Regions from separate parts of the Homo sapiens genome. Here region 1 is linked to region 2. The links are contacts of gene promoters, found by promoter capture Hi-C in human tissues and cell types (Jung and others, 2019). All regions are on one chromosome and are shown on one strand. The core of a region is centred on a gene start or on the middle of the fragment in contact, and the rest is flanking DNA. Distances in the headings are between cores, read along the strand shown. Region 1 has its middle 32 kb from the start of DACT2. Region 2 holds the start of FRMD1 (FERM domain containing 1).

What was found. Contacts are between HindIII fragments. The study calls those that stand out against the background at their distance.
Region 1: a contact is called between a fragment that was not itself captured here and the fragment with the promoter of FRMD1 in region 2, in 2 of the 25 tissues and cell types used here (H1 embryonic stem cells and hippocampus).

The regions. Positions count from the first base shown.
Region 1 is chr6:168,350,193-168,352,892 of GRCh38, reverse strand. No RefSeq gene overlaps it. Among named protein-coding and RNA genes, the nearest start is that of DACT2, 32 kb to the right of the region's middle. The HindIII fragment of the contact is 3,485 bases long and covers 1-2,700 here.
Region 2 is chr6:168,077,777-168,080,476 of GRCh38, reverse strand. It overlaps FRMD1 (FERM domain containing 1), which reads left to right and starts at 1,265. Exons shown (of 11, transcript NM_024919.6): 1 at 1,265-1,595. The coding sequence starts at 1,383. RefSeq lists an enhancer at 1,553-2,274. The HindIII fragment of the contact is 22,554 bases long and covers 1-2,700 here.

The sequences.
Region 1 (2,700 bases), core at 187-2,686, 270 kb before region 2:
TTCTGTCGTTTATCATAGCAGAAGAAAAGCATTCAGCCAACATTTGCTATCTTTCGACTTCCAGGTAACAGCCCTTCTAAGGGATGTGAGGTGTTATCTCATAGTGGTTTTGATTCGCAACTCCCTGATGGCCACTGATGTTGAACACCTCTTCCTATACCTGTTGGACATTTTTATGTCTTCTTGGGAGAAAATGGCGATTCAGATCATTTGCCCATTTTTTAATAGGGTTTTCTACTATTGAGTTGTATGAGTTCTTTATACATTTTGGATACTAACCCTTGATATGGTTTGGCTCTGTGTCCCACCCAAATCTCATGTTAAATTGTAATCCCCAATATTGGAGGTGATTAGATCTTGGGGGCAGAGTTCTCATGAATGGGTAGTATCATCCCTCAGTGCTGTTCTGGGGATGGTGAGTGAGTGAGTTATCATGAGATCTGGTTGTTTAAAAGTGTGCGGCACCTCCCCCCACCTCTTTCTCCTGCTCCAGACATGCCACGTGCTGGCTCCCTGTTGGCCTTCCGCCGTGACTGTAAGTTTCCTGAGGCCTCCCAGAAGTTGAGCAGATGCCAGCACTGCTCCAGCCATGCCATGTGCTGGCATTCTCCTGCTCCAGCCATGCCATATGCTAGCTCCCTGTTGGCTTTCTGCCATGACTGTAAATTTCCTGAGGCCTCCCCAGAAGCTGAGCAGATGCCAGCACCATGCCTCCTGCACAGCCTGCAGAACTGGGAGCCAATTAAATCTCTTTTCTTTATAAATTACCCAGTCTCAGGTGTTTCTTTATAGCCGTGCGAGAATGGACTCATACAGCCCTTTATCAGGTCTATGGTTTCCCAATCCATGGGCTGCCGTTTTATTTTGTTGATTATTTCCCTTGCTTTGCAGAAGCTTTTTAGTTTGATGTAGTCCCATTTATTCATTTATTTATTTATTGCTTTTGTAGCCTGAGCTTTTGATGTGACATCCAAGAATCACTGCCAAGGCCAATGTTAAAGAGCTTTTAGCTTCTGTTTTTTTCTTGTATTTTTATGGTTTCAGGTTTTACATCAAAGTCTTTAATCCATTTTAAGTTGATTTTTCTGTTTGGTGTAAGATAAGGGTCCAATTTCATTCTTTTTCACATGGAAATCCAGTTTTCCCATTACCATTTGTTGAAGAGACTGACTTTTCTCCATTGAGTCCTCTTGGTGCTCTTGTCAAAAACTAGTGGACCATCCATGTTTGGATTTATTCCTGGGCTCTCTATTCTGTTTCATTGGTACATGAGACTGTTTTTATGAAAGTCCTGTACTGTTTTGATTACTATAGCTTTGTAATATAATTTTAAATCAGGAAGTGTGATGCCTCCAACTTTATTTTTCTTTCTCATTCTTGTTTTGGCTATTTGGAGTCTCTTATGTTCCATATACATTGTAGTTTTTTTTTCTATTTCTGTAAAGAATGCCACTAGGATTTTGATAGGGGTTGAATTAAATCTGTCCATTGCTTTGGGCAGTGAGGACATTTTTGCAATATTAATCATTTCAAGTCATGAACACAAGATCCTTCCATTTATTTGTGTCTTCTTCAAACTTCTTTCATCAATGTTTCATCGTTTTCTGCATACAGATCTTTCACCTCTTTGGTTAAATTTATTCCTTGGCATTTTGTTTATTTCTATGTGTTGTAAATGGGATTGTTTTCTTGATTTCTTTTTCAGCTAGGTTATTATTTATATATCCTACAACTTAACTGGATTCATTTAGTAGTTCTAACACTGGTTTCATTTTGTGGAACTCTGAGGTGTTTTACACATATGATCATGTTCTCTACAGATGGAGATAATGTTACTTCCTCGTTTCTGCGGATGCCTTTTCTTTCTTTTTCTTGTTTGATTGCCCTTGCTAGGACTTCCATGCTATGTTGAACAGAGTGGCAAGAGTGGGCATCCCTGCCTCATAGCAGATCTTGGTGGAAAAGCTTTTAATTTTCCCTCTTGTACACAGTTGGTGGAAATGTAGATTGGTACAGTCATTATGAAAAACAGTATAAGCTTCCTCAAAAAATTCAAAATAAGAACCACCATATGACTCAGCCTTTCCTCTGCTGGATATAGATTCAAAATCCATGAAACCAGTGTCTCAAAGAGACGTCTGCACCTGCATGTTTATTGCAGCACTGTTCACAACAGCCAAGATGTGGGGGGGAAGAAAACCTTAAGTGTCTATTGGCAGACAAATGGTTTAAAAAAACTGTGGTACATACACATCATGAAATATTATTTAGCCCTAAAAAGGAGTGAGATCTTGTCATTTTGCCACTGCATGGGTGAACCTACAGAACATCCTTCTGCTGAGTGAAATAAGCCAGACACAGAAGGAAACATATTGCATAATCTCACATGTGGAAACTAAACAAATATTTTAAATCAAATATACAGAAAGAACAAAACAGTGGTTTACAGGGACGTGGTGGGCGAGGGGAATGGGGAGATGTAGCAAATGTGTAGGTGTCTGGAGATCTCGTGTACAACATGGAGAGATGTAGACATGTAGGTGTCTGGAGGTCTTGTGTACAACATGAGGACTGCGGGGAAGGAAGCATTTGGAATTCATGCTGAGTAGATTCTTGCCACTGCTGTGGTCAGGCTGTGTGTCCCCACCCACCTCTTCTTGAATTGTAATCTCCAGGTGTTCAGGGAGGGACCTGGTGGGA
Region 2 (2,700 bases), core at 16-2,515:
TCTGGGGCTGTTTTTTTTTGTGGTTTTTTTGCCATTTTTAAAACTTTTTGTGCTCTCAGCTAAAGGGATCCCCACATCTTCCATAGTGAACAGCTCTACGTTTGCTGTGGAGAGAAAAGAGACCGCCACTGCTGTCTTGGGCACACATGTGTGGCCTCGAGGGTCTGGGAAGGGTCTGGATCTGAGCGGAGGGAGGGAGGGAGGGAGCCAGTGTCAGTCCAGGGTCCGGGGGAGGTGAGGCCTAAGCCTCCTAAATCTTCTCAACCCACCGGGCCGGGCCTTAGGGCGGCTGGAGTGCGAATTTCCTAAACCCACCGGGCCAGGCCTTAAGGCGGCTGGAGTGCGAATTTCCTAAGATGAACAACGGCCCGTCCGGAGGTCCAGACCCCTTACTAGAGGAAGGTCCCAGAGCATCCCAGACTCCATGGCAGGAAACTGATGGAGCTCACGGCTGAGGACAGAATTCCACAGCCCAGGCCCGTGGGAACTGCCTCTCCTGACCTGCAGCGCCCAAAGGTCTGGGTGGTCCCAGGGCCAGGCAGGATCCTGGGGTCCCTTCCCCACCTAACACTGTGCCAAAGAGCTCGAAGGCGTTGCTCATCTCTGCTGAGCGGCCTCAGGGGTTCCAGGCCCTGCGGGAGATGTCCCCACCCCTCGTGCTGATGCACCCGGCTGCTGTCCACGCAAGCCAGGACCCCCTTCCTGGCCTTCCAGCTGCTGCAGGCAGGAAGGGATTTGCTGGCCCTGGACAAGGAAGGAAGTGTCCTCAGTTTCCAGCCCCTAAAGGGAGCCAGGGTCCCTCCTGGCAGAACCTGTCCAGGAACGGCAGCTGTGCTGCTTCCTGAGGTCGATAACAGATGCCACAGGAGGTGTGTGGGGCAGGGTGCCCACCCAGGCTGCCTTCCTCCCGCCCTCCTCGTCCTGCCCTGCTGCTGCTCCATCTTCCCCAGCAGCCCTGGCTCTGGCATCTGTGCCCATGGGGTTTGCATAGCCCTCTCCACATTATAGAAGAAGGAGCAGGCACCCTGAGGAGATAGGGGTTGTCAGGTGGAGGAGTTGGGTCCTGTCTCCCCCAGCCTGGTTCTCACGGGGCCCACACCGAGGCTGGCTGCTGAGCTACCCTGCATGGGAGTGCTGCATGGCGGGTGCCCAGCCTGAGGTTGTTTATTTGCATTCCTGGCGCCCTCCACACACCCAGCTATTTGCAGCTCTGACCCTTGTCCTGGCTTGGCCATGCTGGATTCCCAGCCCAGGCTTCCCTCTCAATTCCCTTCCCAGTGAGAAGCTCGGCAAGGGCGGGTCCCGGAAAGCACAGCTGTGATCTGGGAGGTGCTGAGCACCCACCTGCGACCCATGGCGGGGGAGGGCCGAGTAACGACAGCATGGCGGTGCCCCCGAGAGGGAGGGGCATAGACCCCGCCCGGACAAACCCTGACACGTTCCCTCCTTCAGGGGCGCGATGTATGGAACCCAGTCCTGAGAGGCCTGCATGCAGTCAGCAGGAGCCGACCCTGGGAATGGACGCGATGGCCTCGGAACACAGGGATGTCCTCGTGCTGCTGCCCAGCCGGGAGCAACTGCGGCTGGCCGTGGGGGTGAGCAGGGCCCTGGGTGGCCGTGGGGGTAAACAGAGCTGTGGGGGTGAGCAGGGCTCCGGGTGGCCGTGGGGGTGAGCAGGGCCCTGGGTGGCCGTGGGGGTGAGCAGGGCCCTGGATGGCCTTGGGAGTAAACAGAGCCATGGGGGTGAGGAGGGCCCTGGGTGGCCATAGGGGTGAGCAGGGCTGTGGGGGTGAGCAGAGCCATGGGGGTGAGCAGGGCCCTGGGTGGCCGTGGGGGTGAGCAAGGCTGTGGGGGTGAGCAGGGCCGTGAGGGTGAGCAGAGCCGTGGGGGTGAGCAGGGCTGTGAGGGTGAGCAGAGCCGTGGGGGTGAGCAGGGCCGTGGGGGTGAGCAGGGGTATGGGGTGAGCAGAGCCTCAGGACACAGCCTGTGTATGGAAAGTCCCTGGACCGCCTCACTCTGCTTAGGCCAGGTGTCTGTGAGGTGTCAAGGGCCAGCCCTTTCACTGGGCCTGTGAAGGAAACATCCCTGATAGACGTTGCTGTGAGAAATAAGTTTATGGTTCAGCACATCCTTCCCGGGAGGGAGCGCTGAGGGAAGAGCGCCAGGAAGCCGGTTTCCAAGGAGCAGCTCCTGTCTTGTGTTCAGACGTCACCATCTCTATGCTTCTCTATTTCCTTTTCTTTTCCCTTTCCCCCATTTTGTCTACCTGTTTTAGTTGAGTTCATGGCGACAGGAGTTGAGATGGTACTTTCATTTTAATGATTAATGTGGATAATGAAAATGTGGCAATTAAAATGAGAGTGGTTTGTTGAAGAACGATGACTTTCTGCATAGCTAATGTATCATTGCTACCTGGAATGGAGTATGACTTGCTAGTAATATCCTGGTTCAAGTCCCCTGGGAATCTGGGAGTCTCTTGTCTGCTTCGGGATAGAGTTCTGTGTTTACGTAAACGCCCACATCTATGTTTGTGGCAAAATCTTCCCCAAGACTCTGTGTCCCCACCCAGCAACGAGAAGCTGGAGTTGAGCTAATGGGGGATGTCCTGTAGTTTCCTGGGGTCCCCAGCAGTGCCTCGGGCTGGGGGAGGGGTCATAAGAGGACCTGTTGTGGGGAAGATGCTGGGGCTTTGGCCCCCTA